Linked DNA regions of Homo sapiens: all the other regions are linked to region 1. The links are contacts of gene promoters, found by promoter capture Hi-C in blood cells and fetal thymus (Javierre and others, 2016). All regions are on one chromosome and are shown on one strand. Each heading gives the region's core, a stretch centred on a gene start or on the middle of the fragment in contact. The rest is flanking DNA. Distances are from core to core; before and after follow the strand shown. Region 1 holds the start of RNF13 (ring finger protein 13). Region 2 holds the start of TSC22D2 (TSC22 domain family member 2). Region 3 holds the start of GYG1 (glycogenin 1). Region 4 holds the start of HLTF-AS1 (HLTF antisense RNA 1).

The links. The method cuts DNA at HindIII sites, captures the fragments that hold promoters and counts their contacts. A CHiCAGO score of 5 or more calls a contact.
Region 2: a fragment that was not itself captured here is called in contact with the fragment with the promoter of RNF13 in region 1 in 1 of 17 cell types (total B cells); the score reaches 5.1 in total B cells.
Region 3: the fragment with the promoter of GYG1 here is called in contact with the fragment with the promoter of RNF13 in region 1 in 7 of 17 cell types (fetal thymus, naive CD8 T cells, non-activated CD4 T cells and 4 more); the score reaches 10.2 in fetal thymus.
Region 4: the fragment with the promoter of HLTF-AS1 here is called in contact with the fragment with the promoter of RNF13 in region 1 in 4 of 17 cell types (fetal thymus, naive CD8 T cells, naive CD4 T cells and 1 more); the score reaches 14.1 in fetal thymus.

Annotation. Positions count from the first base shown.
Region 1 is chr3:149,811,059-149,815,295 of GRCh38, reverse strand. RNF13 (ring finger protein 13) reads right to left here and starts at 2,081. Exons shown (of 10, transcript NM_183381.3): 1 at 1,943-2,081. RefSeq lists enhancers at 2,238-2,347, 2,213-2,724 and a silencer at 2,558-2,707. The HindIII fragment of the contact is 6,716 bases long and covers 735-4,237 here.
Region 2 is chr3:150,405,941-150,410,394 of GRCh38, reverse strand. TSC22D2 (TSC22 domain family member 2) reads right to left here and starts at 2,097. Exons shown (of 3, transcript NM_001303264.2): 1 at 1-2,097. The coding sequence starts at 1,044. RefSeq lists enhancers at 1-280, 987-1,036 and silencers at 27-306, 567-736, 1,407-2,006. The HindIII fragment of the contact is 923 bases long and covers 2,733-3,655 here.
Region 3 is chr3:148,989,310-148,993,130 of GRCh38, reverse strand. It overlaps GYG1 (glycogenin 1), which reads right to left and starts at 1,591. Exons shown (of 8, transcript NM_004130.4): 1 at 1,484-1,591. The coding sequence starts at 1,490. RefSeq lists silencers at 575-869, 903-1,952. The HindIII fragment of the contact is 9,660 bases long and covers 1-3,639 here.
Region 4 is chr3:149,083,422-149,087,676 of GRCh38, reverse strand. It overlaps HLTF-AS1 (HLTF antisense RNA 1), which reads right to left and starts at 1,345. Exons shown (of 3, transcript NR_046648.1): 1 at 1,199-1,345. HLTF (helicase like transcription factor) reads left to right here and starts at 1,144. Exons shown (of 25, transcript NM_003071.4): 1 at 1,144-1,360; 2 at 2,788-2,995. The coding sequence starts at 1,341. RefSeq lists enhancers at 782-1,299, 1,185-1,394, 1,300-1,817. The HindIII fragment of the contact is 6,248 bases long and covers 1-3,362 here.

The DNA.
Region 1 (4,237 bases), core at 832-3,331:
ATAAGGCATAAAATGCCTTCCTAGCCAACTTAACTCAAAGACATAAATCTATCCCTTTAGTCATACCCTCAGGCCTACCCTCACTTAGCTAAAGTTAGTGCCTGTAAAAGTTCTGATAAATCTACGTTATTCTGGAATGCAGAAAAATATCAAGGGAAGAAAGCTGAATGCTAGCAACAATTTATGCCCCTCCAAAATTATTGAGAAAATTAGCTTTATACAAGCATAGATGAGAACTTATCCCAAACCCTTCAGTATTATACCTCTCAAACCAAGATTCTGTCTATGATTTGCATTACACATAGAGACAAGATGTCAAGCTGCCTAGCTTCAAACAAAGGCAGAGGTTAAAAAAAAAAAAACTAATAAAACAGTTCTCATTCCCTACATAGAGAAAAATAACTGTGCCTCTCTCCAACAGTTTCCAACAAAACAAAAAAAAATTATGTAATAGACAAATTTTGTTTCATTTAATCCTCATAACAACTCATTTCTTATTTACGGAAAATGTCACAGAATTAGTAAATGGCAGAGCTGAACCCAGCTTGACTCCCAAATTTGGAATTTAGTATTTTGAAACATTTGTTTTTGCCATAATCCATAATACACTTTACATTTCCATCTTCCTCTTGACACACACATACTGTTAAAAACTGAAACAAAAGCTTCTTGCCATAATATTTACTTTTATTCCATACAATGTCCTCTGGTATTTTTTCTTTCTTTATAAAGCTTATGTCAATGTACTAAATTGATTCTAAAATCTATTAATGAATCCTTATGGGCCCTGCACTACAGCACTGCACTACACTTCCTGCACTACAGCACTGCACTACACTTCTTACCTCCTGTTTAAAGTTCTTTTTAATTGCTATCACTGTCCAGTTTTGTTACTTCGAGATGGAGCTAATGTCCACCCATTAAAAAACTGTGCTTAAATAGCATAAACTCTTGAAAGCCCTACCTTAAATCTTGAATTGATCTGTTTCTCCAGAAGAACTCTTTGGAGGCACAGCCACCTTACTTATTTATATTGTATCAAAAACTGCAGATGTTCTCCTTGGAGAACAAACACATCATTGTTGAAAGGAATGCATCAGTTTTCACTGTTTCTGCTGCATCACTGACGAACAGTAATAGCCGGGCAGGTTTGGGGCAACAAGAGAGGACCCGAGCAGCTGCCCACGGTGCTGAAACTGATGATGAAACGACAGTTTTGGAAATTTACTATTTACTATTGTCAGATTAGGACAAAATAGAGGAATTTACCAGACACTGGCAGAGAAAACTGAGTGGCCGCCACCAAAGTTGCATGAGTGCTTCCGGGATACTGCTGTTTGGCTTCGATGTCTGCCCACTCTCTCTTTCTCTCTGGGACAAAGTTATTTAATAAGTGCAAGTCAAGTCAAGTCAAGCATACAGGCAGAGCTGCTGACTGACCGTAGTATCTGGCCCTAGCAGGGGTTAAGTCCCAAACCTGCAATCTGAGCTTCCAGGGAAAGAAAAAGGGGGTGGGGGTAAAAGAGAGGAAGTGACTGCCCTCCTTCTATTCAGAGACAAAACAGCCCCCTCAACTAAAGTCAAGCGATGTGCCCGAGGACGTTGCGGCAGGTACTTGACCAAGAAAAGCCTTCCAAACATGTTTTCCAGGCAGGCTCTTGCAGCCTCAAGAAGGGAATGAGAGAAGCAAAACCGGTAACTCAACTTTGGACACACACAAACTCGCGGAATGAGAGTGCAGGGGAGACTCGGTCCCCCGAGGGCAAGGCTATTTTATTCCTTTTGCAAAAAGCCTAATTGACTTCTCACCCAGCTCTAGAGGAGCAGCAAAGACCTCAGCAGCAGGGCCGACTCCGAGCTCGAGGGCCAACAAGCGGGGTATGTTCTCTGGGCCGCTCGATAACGAGCTGCCCGGCTGCCGCGAAGCCGGACAGGGTCTTACCTTGAAGTCCGGCCCCCGCAACACAAACAGTCTTGCCAGCCGCGTCGCTGCGGGAGAAGTCCCTACCCTGATTTCATGACTGAATATCCGCACCGACCCCCACAGCCCGGAGTACTAGCAGGGACGACAACACCTAGGCGAAGCGGAAGTCCCGCCCCACGCGCCTCATTGGTCCGCACCCAAAGGCACAGAAAACCCACTGGGCAACATGGTTGCCTGTTAAGGCTCTTTCCCACTCTCACGCGGAGTCTCGCTACTTGCTCTAGCCCGGCTCGGAGAAATGCCCAGTTTGCGAGTCTCGTTCTTGGCCGCGTGATCCGTCTTCCCTGGAAGGGAAGAGCAGGGTGGGGCAGGCGTCTGCGGAACTGGAGCGCGGCTGAAGAAGCTGCTCTTGGCAGAGGAAGGGGCAGGCTGGCAAAGTGGATTGGCTGTGGGCGCCTGCCGCTAACCATGTGCCCCTAGAAACGGAGACCGTAGGGTCTGGAGGGCGCGGGACCGAGCGGGCAGGGCCGGTCGGTCTGATCTGCTCCGGCTGTTGGGACAGAGTAGCCCAAGATTCGGCTGCCGGGCTGCCCCCGGGCGGGCCTGGCCCTGGCGCTGACGCGTCTCTTCCCTGCACACTACACTCACCCGACCTACTAAAGAGGCGAGGGCGAGGCCTCATCCGCCCGCCTTCCGTACCGTGCCCAGTCTGAGATCAGAGTGGGTGGGGACCGTGGCCACACCTTAAAGTAGGGCTCAAATTGTTAGAGATGCGAGCGGCCCGAGGTCTGAACGCCAGTCCCCTGAGGCCTGGCTCGGATCCACGCTGGCATCAGCACTCTGGGCCTGACACGCGCCATCCCCGGGGCTTAGCAAAAGTCAAACCATGTGATTCAGGCCCTAGGTCAGCCTTTTAAAACCCTTGCCTCCTTTTGATGAACCAAAAATCTCCTCCCCTGCCGCCCTTCTGATAAGCCTTCCTTTCTGGTTGTCTCAATCTTAAACCAGTCGAAACTTAAATTACCGGATTGTACCATCCACATTGATTAATCATTGCCAACTCGCCACCTTACAAAAGCAGTGTGACTTAGGCAAATATTACAGAGTCCTGAAAGAAATGTCAGGAGACATAGAATCAGGCACTACTTCTGCTTCAAATAATAAGGCACCCTTAATAAGGCCTTTACAGGCTTCAACTCCTTCAACATCATCTTTTAAAAATGGTGGCGAGGAGGCTATCACACAGAGTATTAGTAGAATACCATTGGATGTAACTTGTCACTTTGATTGCTTGGAGAGCCCTGAGTAGGTGGGACACAGCAATGGGGAAAAGACTCTTTCCTTATTGTGTATCCTTTTGTGCCTTTTGAATTTTGAACCTTGCAAATATTACCTACTCAAATAAAATTCAAATACAAGAAATTTAAGATCAAATTTTAAAAAATTAAATAAAAGCTATCAAAGGTACTTTCCTCTTCTGTGTATCCTATGAGTATTCTATGTAGTCTTAACTTTTCATTGGTTGCAAAGACATTCAATACTTAAATCACAATTCTGCCTTTAAGAAAGTCATAAATAAAAGTCAGCATTGGGAATATTACTAAGAAGACTAATTAGTATAAACACATTTATAATATCTCTATAAGCATTTTTTTCATTAAATTATCCCAAATTGGTATATTAAATCAGATTTCTTGCATAACATCAAAATAAATTTTTTTAGGCCGGGTGCGGTGGCTCATGCCTGTAATCCCAGCACTTTGGGAGGCCAAGTCAGGCGGATCACTTGAGGTCAGGAGTTCAAGACCACACTGGCCAACATGGTGAAACCTCGTCTCTACTAAAAATACAAAATTAGCCGGGCATTGTGGTGCACACCTGTAATCCCAGCTACTTGGGAAGCTGAGGCAGGAGAATCGCTTGAACATGGGAGGCAGAGGTTACAGTGAGCTGAGATCCCACCACTGCACTCGGGCATAGGCAACAGAGCAAGATTCCATCTCCAAAAAAAAAAAAAAAAATTAAGTCCACAGAGAGGAGCTTTGGGTTTTGTTGTTTTATTTTTATTTATTTTAGAGACAAGGTCTCACTCTGTTGCCCAGGCTGGAGTGCAGTGGTGAGATCATGTCTCACTGCAGTCCAGAACTCCTGGGCTCAAGTAATCCTCCCACCTCAACCTCTGGAGTAGCTAGGATTACAGGCATGTGCCACCAGGCCTGGCTAATTTTTTTATTTTTTTTAGCCTTACAGTCTGGCTATGTTGCCCAGGCAGGTCTCAAACTCCTGGCCTCAAAGGATCTTCTTGCCTCGGTC
Region 2 (4,454 bases), core at 1,945-4,444, 590 kb before region 1:
GGCGCCCACTGCAGGGCCCGGCTGCGGAGGCAGGGACATAGCCGGCTGCGCCAGGGTTACATTCGTCGGCGGCAGAGTCTGTCCCCCGGGCCCCGCTCCCTGGGGCTGGCTGGGCTGCGCGGCTGCCATCATTGGCTGCGGCCCGGTCGCGGCTCCCGGGAACGGCGGCAGCGGAGCCGAGCTTTGAGCCACAGCCCCACCTACGGGTGGCGGCGGCGGCTGTGGCTGCCCAACGCTAAAACTCTGCGGCTGGGCCGGAGTGGGCTGGCTCATTTTCTCCGACGGGGGTAGCTGTGACACAGCAGTCAAGGAGCTGTCAGTTCCCGACTCGGGCCCGTGCGCCCCCTGCATGGAGGCCACTACTACCACCACCGACCCTCCGGTGGCGCCCAGGCCGCTGTCCCGCTCCGCAGTCTGGTCAAAAGTACTGCTGTGTCTAATGCAATCCCCGGATCTAGTCAGGACGCTGCTGTCTGAATCCCTCTCATAGTATTCCATACACGTCCATCGGCCGCGTCTATAGGGCTCTCCGCTCCCGTGGTCCAGCTTGATCACGCGAAAACGGGAACTACATGTGGTGGGAGGCTGAGATGGGGCTGCAGTCACTGGCCCGGCGGATGAGCCCGCGAGCTGGGGGCCGCCGGGTGCTCCGGGGGCGGGGGCCGAAGTGGCAGCCGCCGCCAGGGTACTGGCGAGCGCCCCAGACACGCTCCGGGCCGAAACGACTCCTCCTCCGTTGGCGGGAGCAGCAGCCGCCGCTGCCAGCTGCCCATCTAGGAGGAGGTTTGGGGAGACGGTCCCGGGAGTCTCCGCATCCCCAACATTGTTAAGCGTCTCTTCGGAAGAGCTGCGCTCGCAGACCTCCTCAGGGCCATAATCCGTGGCCCGAGAGACGTCGAAAATCTCGGAGGAGACGTCCTCTGTGCGTGACTCGTCCGGGTCGTCCAAGCTCTCGGTGTCCTCGGTGATGCTAGTGGCCACCTGGGCCGTGGTGACACTGGTGATCTGGAAGCAGCTCTTCTTCTTGGCCGGCATCTTGGACATGGTGAAGAAGGCTGGAGGGCAGAGAGGCACGCCGGCTCCTCTGGGTCCTGTCGGAAACCGGGGAGGGCAGAGCACGGGCCCCCAAAGACAAAGTCCGAGTCTGCGCTGGGGTCTGAGGCCCGCCGCTGTTAAGAGTCACGGGCTGATCCAGGCGCTGGCCGCCCGGTGAGACATCCTCCTCCTCGTTTCCTTCTCTGTGTCGGTCTCTTCGGCTCTGCCCCCGTCTCAGTCCCGCGGCGGCTCCTCCTTCCTTTTTAGCTCTCGCAGCCGCGGCGCCTCAATTCAATTCCCTCAGAGGCGGCGAGAGCGCGAACCCAGGGGCGGGCCGGCTGCTTCCTCTCTCGTCTCCGGGCAGCCGTGGTCAGTCCAGCTCGGCGCTCGGCGCGGTCAGCAGGCCTTGGCTGGGGGTGGGAGTGGGAGGGCGAAGAGGAGGAGGAGGAGGCGGTGGCGGCGGCGTGAGGGGCGGTGCTGCCCCGCTCGGGCTCCTCAGGCCGGTGCCGGCGTCAGCGCTGGGCTCTCTGACTGAGGGAAGGAGCGGCGAGTCCGGAGTCGGAGATGCCTAATTCAGCCGGGAGCCGCGGGCCGGAGCTGGCTGAAGGTCCGCGGGCGGGCGGTGGGGCTGTGGCGCGGGCAGGCGGCCCTCCCTCCCCGGCTCTAGCCGGAGCTCAGCCCCAGGGACATGTCGACTGCCTCAGGCGGAAACCCGCTCTGGGGGAGGGGAAAGCCGGCTCGGTCCTCCCCTTACAGGGGGAACCACCCCTGCGGGCGGGCGGCGACGGCGGTCTCGGCCTCCCCTCGCGGCTTCTCTCAGAGAGGGGCGGCGGCGGCAGACCGCTGGCACGGGACCGGAGGCGCCCCGGCTGTGTGAGGTAGCGGTGGTGGCTTCTCCGGCTCCTCCTCGGTGCGCCCAATTCCTAAACCCCGAAGAAACTGAAATTCAAACTGCTGAAGCGGCGGCTGCAGCTCCCTCCGCTGGGCCAAGATGGGGCTGAAATGGCCGCGCCAGGGATGCTGGGAGGAGCAGCAGCCCCGCTGCCGCCGCCGCTGCCGACTAAAATGCCGCCGCTGCCGCAGCCACCGCCAGCGCCGCAGCCGCCGCCGTTCCGTGACGCACCGGCGTCGTGACGTCACCGCTCCGCCCCCTCCGGTTTCCTGCAGTTTCGCGTGGAACCTGGGGTGGGGGGCAATGGGCGGGGCTAAAGGTTAAAAAAGGGAGCGGTTTCTTTATTTAAAATTTTTAAAATTTAAATTTTGTGTTGTAGGTTCTTTAAGCATTGACGAGCTAAAGACCATTTTAAATTCTAAGCCTAGGGAAGCTTACAATGGAACTAATCAGATGTTTTTATGTCGGTTTGTTCCGAGACAGTGGAAGACTGGAGGTCATGTGCTTGTGTCTAATGTTTAGCAAAATCTTAGTGAAACGAGGGCGATAGGAATGGGGGCTGGGGAAGACTTAGATGGGATAAAAAGAGGTGCGGCTGGAAGAACTAAATCACTTTAAAACTTCTGAAAATAAATGTTGACCATTGTAGTCAGAGGAGTAAAATGTTCAGAGAAATGGGGATGATTAAACAAGAACGGCAAGCCAGATTGAGTCAGAAAATTATCTTCCTGCCAGAAATTCTGTCTCCCACAACGGCATCAGGGGGTGGTTACTTGCCCAGGGTGTAGTCAGTTTTTAAAAAGCTTAAGGGTTACCAACATATTCCTAAATTTCCTGAATTTGCTGTGATTCCAGGATTCATTTAAACTCTTGAGACTGTTTTACTTTCGGCACGAAATCAGCTCATGGGCTTTATAAATGTAGAACCTACTGCATTATAGTTCTTCTTTTTGTTTATTCTAAAACTGTTAGTAGCAGCCAGCGTATTATATGATTTGGATTGGGCCATGAACAACCGTAACGAGTGATAAAGCACCCTTTCCTGTTCCAATGCAAAGAACAACTATGAAAAGAAAGTACTGGCAAATTTATCATCTTGTAGTTAGTTCCTGGCCAAAGAAAATGGTAAGGCCATTCTTTTAAGCAGTTAAAAAAAAATGGGGATGGGCTCTTAAACTTTGGCATGCTAAGGCCATTCTTTTAAGCAGTTTAAAAAAATGGGGATGGGCTCCTAAACTTTGACATACTAAAGCAGTCGTCATTTAGGTAAAATCTAAGTCTTAATGGAAATCGTGATTTCATATCTACTGCAGCGTTAGCAATCACATAATGATAACTTAAATCAGTAAATCGTTGAACTCGGTTCTCTAATCTTTGAAGAATAGAAATACTTTTTATCCCAAAAGATGTTTTGAGAATTAAATTTGCAGAGAATTTTTTAGGTCTTTAGTTGTAATTTATAGAGCTAGGTCTTTTAACTTTAGTGGAAACCATGCCCTCCAAACCCAAGTGACTGGAGTCAGAATGTGAAATAAGACGACATAAAATCCCTATTTCTTAAGGGGCTGGGCGAAAGTAATGGAACAAAATGTAACGTTATGCTATTGTGGCAGAGATAGCTAATGGAATGTTTCATTTCTAAGTCTGTAATTTCAGTAATTGTTAGAGGCAGTTTTCCATCAATAAGTTAGATCAAATGGTTAAACCCAATATGAATTTATAAAAGCTTAATTTAATTTTGGATTGATTTACCAGATGTTTAAGGTGGTTATAATGGGTAGTGTTGATGGTGGTGCTTTTGGAAAAATGAGTATTATATGCCTGCTCATCCCTTTACATTATCTTATCATATAAACTTCTTGATTACTCGTTATGATACTCTTAAATCGTACATTTAGAGGAAAAATCTTAAAGTAATCTGTAAGACCATTTCTCCTTAAAATGATATATTATGAGATGAAAGGAAAGATAAAGATAATTTAGAAGAGATCCAGAAGTGGACTAAATTTCTGGTAAGGAGGGGGCTAAAGATGTTAAAAGACATCTTAGGAAAAGCATATGATTTATAACTTTTAAAAGTGTCATTTAGATGGTTAAGGATTTGTGTTTAATAGTTCTCTTGAAAATATTGTTTTCCAAAAGTTTAAAAGCCCTAGCTACTTTTATACATTTGCCCTTAAAAAATGTACAGAATTTATTACATCAAACTGCTACAAAGAAATAAGAATTCTGATTTTTGCAAGTAAGTTGGAAATCAACGTAGAGGACAAAAAGTGGCATAGCTATATCTAAACAAAAAAGTATGTAATTCAAAAGTTGGTCCACAAAGAATTGAAAGCCTTTCAATAACTAATTTAAATGATAGAAAGCAGTATGTATATGCAAGTACATATGCTCCCTGTATAGAGAGTGGTTAGTAAGTAAGATGGTAGCCTAACTCACTGGAATAAAGAGATCCTTGGAGTCCCAAACCTCAAGACTAGGAGTCTTAATGCAGTTACCAGGCTGCATGCCTGTACCCAGAGAC
Region 3 (3,821 bases), core at 342-2,841, 820 kb after region 1:
ATTAGCAAGTTGGTGGGCATCCAAATGCATAGGACACTTCGGATCAAGTTCTGGTAGGAGTCAGTTGCTTAACCAGCGAGTTGGGACATTTTGTCATGAAGTCCTTCTCTTTCTGACCTGGCTTTCCCTCATTCTCCCTTGCCCGTTTTCCAAGGTGGAGGCTGGAAGCAGTAGAAATTCCACCGAGACATGAGAGGAAGTTGTGGGTTGCCTAGTGGGCCAGCGCATCCCTCGGCTGCTGACCTGAGAGCCATCTTCACACATTTTATTAGGCCCTCTCCCACGGCAGGCCAACTACTAAGTTGTAGGAAGACCAGTTCCCCACCCCCGAAGGGCCACCAGCTTCCCAGTCACTCACACTCTAGGAAAGCTCTGAACAGTGGCACCTGTCCCTTGACAGGCCCATCAACATCCGCCTGTACTTGCTTCTATTATCTTCAGCCCATTATAACATGGGTAACATCGCTGTCAATCTGTACCAAAAATACTTAAGCTAGGCAAAATGAATGATCATCTAACTCAAATGAAGTCCAGGTTCCAGGCGATCATGGAGAAAAATGTAATAAGGTGAGCAGGATTCAAGGATTTCTGGAAGCAAGGATATGGATGATTTCCAAGATTAAATAAGGGATAGAACACAGGTTAGAACACCAGACTAGCCAACATTACAAATGACCAAGAAAGACCAATGACAGCTGGGTAGGAGTTTAATCTTCCTAAAGACGGCTGAACTCTGGGTTACACCTGCAATCTTTGTGGCAGTTCAACTGCTGTAATAACCCTGGCTATTAGCCTCAATGACACGGAAGGACCAGCTAACTCGGAGCTTCCCAGTGCTGGGGCTAACTCGTGGAGTGGCCCGGACGCCTCGCAACAAGTGAAGCCAAAGCCGGCGCCCTCCCACCAGACGGGGCTCGCGCCCGGGGACGCTAGTCCGACTCCCGGCTTCCCGCAACCCGGCCCCAAAGGCCTAAAAATAGGCTCAGCGTGGCGGCCGGGGCCGGGGCGGGCGGCGGAGGAGCCGGGCGGAGGCCGCAGTATCCCCGCCTCGGAGCCCCTGCTTCCTGGGGTTCCGGGCCGCCAGAGGCCGGGGCAGCTCCCCACGATGCCGCTGCGCCCCGGACTCCCGCCTGGAACCCCCAGGGGAACCGGCTCCCCACCCCCACACGGCCCCGCCGCAGCTGCTCCGCCCGCCGGCCCTTCGCCGTGAGAGCAAGAGGAAGGACGAGGAGACGGAAGCAGGAACGAGAGCTCCGGCCGAGGGCCCGGGCTCTGCCCGGCTGCCCCATCCCTGCACTCTGGGGGGCGGCGGGGCGGCAGCTGACGCAGGCAGAAACACGCCCGGCTGCGGCCAGCCAGCAACTTTGCGGCGGTTTCGTCCTGCCGGGAACACTCCGGGGCTGAGGGCGGAGGAGAAGGGAGGCGGCGGCTGGGCAGGAAGCCGGGGTCCCGGGGCTGGCGGCGGCGGGCTGCGCGGCGGTACCTGTCATGGTGCTGCCGGGTGCGCAGGCGGCCGGGGCAGCCTCAGGTTGGTGACTCAGAGAAGCCGGCACCGGGAGGGAGCGCGGCCAGCGAGGAGGCACGGCGGGGAACCGAGCGTCTGCCCCGTGCGCTCTTATAGCGGCCGTCACGTGGCCGCGCACGCTCTCGCTGCCGTCCGCATCCTCCCAGCTGCGCGGCCGGCAGGGGCGGTGGCCCGCGGGGCTCCGGGTCCCGCGTCTCCCTCGGCTCCTCCTCCCTCCCTCGGGGCTAGGCTGCCGCTGCGGCTGCGGCTCACCGGCGCCCCTGCTCCTACTTCCCCGGGGCGCCTGCCCTTGTCAACCGCGCGCCCCCTGTCGCCGCTAAACCTGGGAGTTAAGGGGGACTTTGGGGCTGAGTGCGGCATCAAACTCCCCAAGAAGCCAAGGGTTAGGGAACCTTAAAAAACAAGCAAACAAACCCCAGATTACTCTAGTTAAAATCGTGAGTCTGAACTGCTTGAATGAAACGTAAAATTTACGCTTTTTTTGCAGAATTTCGATCAGCCTCTATAATCATTCCTTAGTGTACTCACAATGGTTTTGTACCCTTAACCTAAAAAATATAGTGAATATTTCGTAAATGTTAAATTCTTGGAGCCATCTGCATCAATTAGGCATTTAAGTGCTTCATTTAATCCTTGTACGAACTCAGTGAGGTGTTACATATTCATTTTACAGACGAGGAGGAAACTGAGCTCAGAAAAGTTAAATTAACTTTTCTTTTCTTTTTTTTCTTGTATTTTTAGTAGAGACAGAGTTTCACCATGTTGGCCAGCCTGGTCTGGAACTCCTGGCCTCAAGTGATCTGCCAGCCTTAGCCTCCCAAAGTGCTAACTTTTCTATAGTCATATAATATAAATGGAGAAAGTAGGATTTAAACCCTGGCAGTTTGGTTACAGAATCAACCTTCCCACCCAGAAAGTCTTGGTGCCTCTTGTACACAGGGGCTCCAAAAAGGTTAGTAAATTATTGTAACTGTGGTTAGCCAATGCTAACCTGTTTCACAAATCTTGAAATGGTCAATTTGTCATTTTTCTAGGAAGTTGAGAAATAGCTTTAATGTGATCACATCCTTCTCTGCTCCCCATCCCCAGTCCAAACACAGAACAAGCCTCGGGTAGTTCAGTTCTCTGCAAACTGAAAACTGAAATTGCTCGGTAAATGTTGAATGAGTACTGCAAAGCCATTTGGAAACCAATCAGGAAGTTGACATCAGTTCAAAAAGCAAAACAGATGCTTAAGAATAAGTGATTTATTTGCAAAGGTGGTACTGCTGTCCTCAAACCAGTTATATCACTGTTTCCTCGTGTGTGGGTGTGGATCTCCTACATCAGAATCACTTGGGGGCACTGGTTAAAGCGTAGATTTTTGGGCCTAAGCCCAGACCTCCTGAATCAGAATCTTAAGGGTAGGTTTATTTTGGTGCAAAATAATTTTGAAATCCATGCATTTTTTTTTTATAATATGTATATTCTATGGACTTTTTGAAGTCGCGTCATATACTCTTGAGGTAATGAAATACTCTGTAGGCATAATCATTATATATTTTTAATATAAAAAGCTGTTCAAAATATATTATTTGAAGAAAAACAGGTTACAAAACAAAAAGAATCTTAAGGGTAGAACCTTAAAATCAGTATTTTAAATATCACCTTCCAGGAGCCTCTCTTGAGTCCTTCCTAGTCTTGACCATGGCCTAGAGACCGCTGATCACATGGGAGGCCCTCCCAGTTACTTGGCATTATGTGCTTCCGTTGTAGGAAACAGAAAAGTGGAAAGGGCAATAGATGGGTTTCCACTTATTCAAAAGATATAGACATAGAAGAGTTGGAGCTCTTTAAGGAACACAAAGGCTACACTTTTGTATCTTAAGTGGGGAGAGGGAAAACAAAGAGAGGTACTTCTCAGTCTGATTGCTCTTTTGCAGACTGAGAGGTGAACTTGGAAGAGTGAGATTTCCATCTTTCACCCAGAACCCTCCTGCCATCAGCTGACCCTTAACCATCTACTTCTTGCAGCCTACTATCTCAGGCTGGACTTAGCCAGGGATGTGGTGATGGGGCTGAAAGGGCAAAGCCAGGAGGTAGAACTGGGGACAACTGGGAAAAACAGAAAAGCTTCCCTTAGAACAAGCTCCTCTCTGCTGCAACTCCCAGGACGTTTAAGTAAAAGGAACGGTTACCACAGCTTCCCTTCCTGAGCTTCATGTATATTTACACAAATAGAAAGTTTACAGCTTTTACCACTTTGAATCAAATAGGGACATTTTGAGGTTGCTACAATCTGTTCTTCTTCATTGTC
Region 4 (4,255 bases), core at 96-2,595, 730 kb after region 1:
AGGCGGAGGTTGCAGTGAGCCAAGATCACCCCCATTGCACTCCAGCCTGGGGGACAGAGCAAGACTCCATCTCAATAAAAAAGAAAAAAAAACAAAAAAAAGAAAAAAGAAAAGCTGACCACCTAATATTATTGTGCTGACAGGCGTGTAACATGGACCTCTCTGTGACGCGCAAGTATTATCTGGCAGTTACATGGTGCCGCCTGTGCAGCTGGGCGCCACCACCAGCTTCCTGCCCTGTGCGATTAAAAGGCCAGCTTCGGGGACAGCAGCCTCCTCAACGCAAAGCGACCAGCCCTGCCAGGCGTCGGCTGCAGCTGGTCCAAGGTTGACGGTCCCAGGGCCGCATTCTCCTTCCGGTCACCTCAGACTCTGGAAAGAGAGCCATGGAGGGCCTCAGAGCGCCCCTCTGCAGTTCCTTGAGGAAAACAAGGGCCTCCCCCTCTTGGCTGGAGCAGCCAAGTGCCCACGGGGAAAATGGTCCCGTCCACCATTTCAGGCAAACGCCCCCATAGCTGTAATAAACATGTGATGGGTTTCCTGCACCAAGAAAGGAAAATTTTCCTTAAAAATAACAAAAAGAGGTGGGGAGGGGACTCTAAGTTCCATTTAAGATTTTCCAAACTCGTTGTGTCTCATGCATACGCTGAGGCTTAACATGAAAATTTGGAGCGAAAGTCCCCACGGTTCACCACAGGGAATGAAGTAAAGTATCTCGCCGGTAGCTCTAGGTCTCGTAAACCGTGGAGCTCCTTTAGTATAAGGCCCTATTATGTGCCACATTAGATGAGAAGAAAATAAGAGGAAGGATACGGTAGAGCCTTTAGAATGGGGTTCAGTCTTAGGACTCGTAGGATAAAGGAAGGTCGTTTCCCTCCGTTTGAGGCAGGGAATCAAACAAAACACCGGCACCGCAGGCACCGCAGTCGCACTCCTGGGGCCTCGTGGCTTTCCCGCGCGCCCGCCTTGGGGGCGGGGAAGAACCCGGATGGAACCACCCTTGCAGCCCGGACCCCCCGCCGTCTTTGAATGGCAGCGGGGCGGAGTTGCCCTCCCTTCTGTGCTCTGACTGGTTTGGCTCCGCACTCTCCTCTTCGTGATTGGGCTTTCCTAGTGCCAGTCACAGAGCGACGCTGGTCTCCCAGATTGTTGCAGAAGGAGACGGCGTCGACGTCTGACTGGACTCGCGGCGACTTACCTTTCAGTCGTGCGCTCCTGATCCGGCGCTCGGAATTTGTCCCCGGCTTCAGGGCTGCGGGGCCTGGAAGGAGGCGTATCGAGGCGGCTCGAAAACGATCCAGGGGAGCCGAGGCGCTCCTCTTGTCATCCCACTCAGCGCCATGTCCTGGATGTTCAAGAGGTGAAGGGGGCGGAGGGGGTGGGGCGCTCGGTCTAACGGCCTGGAGGCGTCCCCAAATGAACCTGACCTTCCCCGCGTTCCTCTGCGTTCCCTGGGCGATTTGTGCAGCTGTATTCGTTCTGTTGGTCGCATATGTGGCCGCCGGAGAAATAAATGCATTGTCTTCGCTGGCGAGTAGGGGCTCCTAGGGCGAGTCCCGTGTTAGGGACTTGGGAAATCTCTGTCACCGACTGTGGGGGGCCTGGGGCTTAAAGCATCTCGGCCAGTGCTTTATTTAACAAAACATCCATTAGATACCCACTGTGCGCCAGGCATTGTGCTCGGTGGAGGGCCGAGTAAGACAGTCCTTGTCCCCAAGTGGCTCACAGCTTATCTGTATGCACAGACGTGCAGATAAGTATTTGCAGAGGCGCTAGTAGAGATATGCGCCACTTGCAAGGAAAACGCATCGCAAATAAGCGACTGTTCTTAGGAGAATGGAAACTTTTTGCAATGCTCCAGTAGACTCCCCTTCACTTTTCATTGTCCAAATTGGTATTTATGGTCATTCCCGAAACAGTTACACCTAATGGGTTTGGGGTTATGCTTAAACCGGCGACGGAAGGCGGGTACGGGTGGCTTGGGGCCAATTTCCCACGGTGGCGTGGTTTGGATACCAGAATAGGTGTTCTGCTCGCAGGGAGTTACAGTGATGGATGCTGGATGTATTTTCTGGAAAATTATAAACAACTTCTGGTACATTAATAGTTGTATTTTTATAAGTCTTTTATATAGCTCAATCCCTATTGAAATTTTGGCATATGATTTCATTTTTTAAATTATTTTTTTGACATGGAGTCTCGCTCTGTCGTCCAGGCTGGAGTGCAGTGGCACAATCTCGGCTCGCTGCAACCTACGCCTCCCGGGTTCAAGTGATTCTCCTGCCTCAGCCTCCCGAGTAGCTGGGATTACATATGGGCGCCACCACGCCTGGCTAATTTTTGTATTTGTAGTAGACAGGGTTTCACAATGTTGGCCAGGTTGGTCTCAAATTCCTGACCTCAGGTGATCCACCTGCCTCTGCCTCCCAAAGTGCTGGGATTCCAGGCGTGAGCCACCGCATCCGGCCCATAATTGTAGTTACAGACATCATATACATATCAATTTAGATGATTTTCACTGGGAAAGAGGTTAGTGAACTCTGACTAGGCTTTTCATTTTGAATACCTAGGGGGCAGGTAGAAGAGCCAATATTGAAAACAGGTAGAGTTCCTAGAAGCCTTCTCCACTCACTGCAATTCCTGCTTTAACGAGAGTAACTATTAATCTTTACCGTGATTCCCATGTAAGATTTCATTTGCTGAAGTAAAGCATGAGAAAACTACTCATATGGTCTTTGGAAATACTTAAATATTATATTGTTTTTCTTTGCCTTTAAAAAAAAATAGGGATCCAGTTTGGAAGTACTTGCAGACTGTCCAGTATGGAGTTCATGGAAATTTTCCACGCCTCTCATATCCAACTTTCTTTCCACGTTTTGAATTCCAAGATGTTATCCCTCCAGATGACTTTCTAACTAGTGATGAAGAAGTAGATTCCGTTTTATTTGGAAGTTTGAGAGGTCATGTGGTTGGACTACGCTATTACACGGGAGTAGTGAGTATAATAGTAGATAATTAAATTTTGATTATATTTCTGGCGTTAACCTAGAAAATAAGAGAATTCGCAGGTGATGTGTGCGGTTAATCTTTATTTTACTTTAAGTTAGTTAAATATTTGTACGCAAAAAATAACAAATACCTTAAGTGACCCTCCCACCTCAGCCTCCCAGAGTGTTGGGATTACAGGAATGAGCCAATATGCTTGGCCTCAGTGCGTTATGTTTGGTTATTATGGGTAGCACCCCACCCCCACACCCCAGCGCCTTGTTCATGTCATCGATTTGTTGCAAAAAGGAGATCGTTTTGTGGAATCTTCTGGATTTTATTCTTTCATTTCTCCGTATGTTTCTTATGTTTAAGCTTCTCAATAGGGTGTCTGAAGCATGTTCGACAGGAGATTCCTTAGGAGTTTCATGTTCTGGATTTGTTTTTCTCCTGTATTTCCTTTACATTGGAACGTTTCAAATTGTTTTTTGATTGTCTGAAATGTGTTGTCTAGGAGATTCCTTAGGAAGAGACAATATTTCCTAAGTTTTTATATTTTCATACTTGTGGCATTTTATGAATGACAGTTTCATAAAATGAAAGTTATGAAGGACTTAATGACAGTTGGGCTGAATTTAAAATCTTTGTAATATATCTTTGTAATAAAATCTTTGTAATAAAATCTCCATATCCTAATGTTGCATAGAATTCTCAGGCCAGTGTGATTTTCTTTCACTTAAGTGAATTGGATTTTTTTTTTTTTCTTTTTTTTTGAGACCAAGTTTCGTTTTGTTGCCCAGGCTGGAGTGCAGTGGCCTGATCTGGCCTCACTGCAATCTCTGCCTCCCAGACTCAAGCAATTCTCCCAATTCAGCCTCCTGAGTAGCTGGGACTGCTGGCGTTCACCACCATACCCAGCTAATTTTTGTATTTTTTTTTTTTGTATTTTTTTTTAGGTTTTGGCATGTTGTCCAGGCTGATCTGGAACTCCTGGGCTCAAGTGATCCGTCCGCCTTGGCCTCTCCAAGTGCTGGGATGCTGCACCCGGCCTCTAATTTTTTCTAATAGATTCTTGAACTCTATCAGTTCTTATTTCACATCTATATATTCTCTGGCTCTCATATGCATTTCTGAGCTTTTCTGTTTCAGATTTGTGCTAATTTTTCAAAACTTACATTGCTTTCGATAATTATTTTATACCACCATGAAATACTAGATTATGGTAGTTATTGATCTTAGAACAATCAGTATTTTTGATCTGAGAATAATC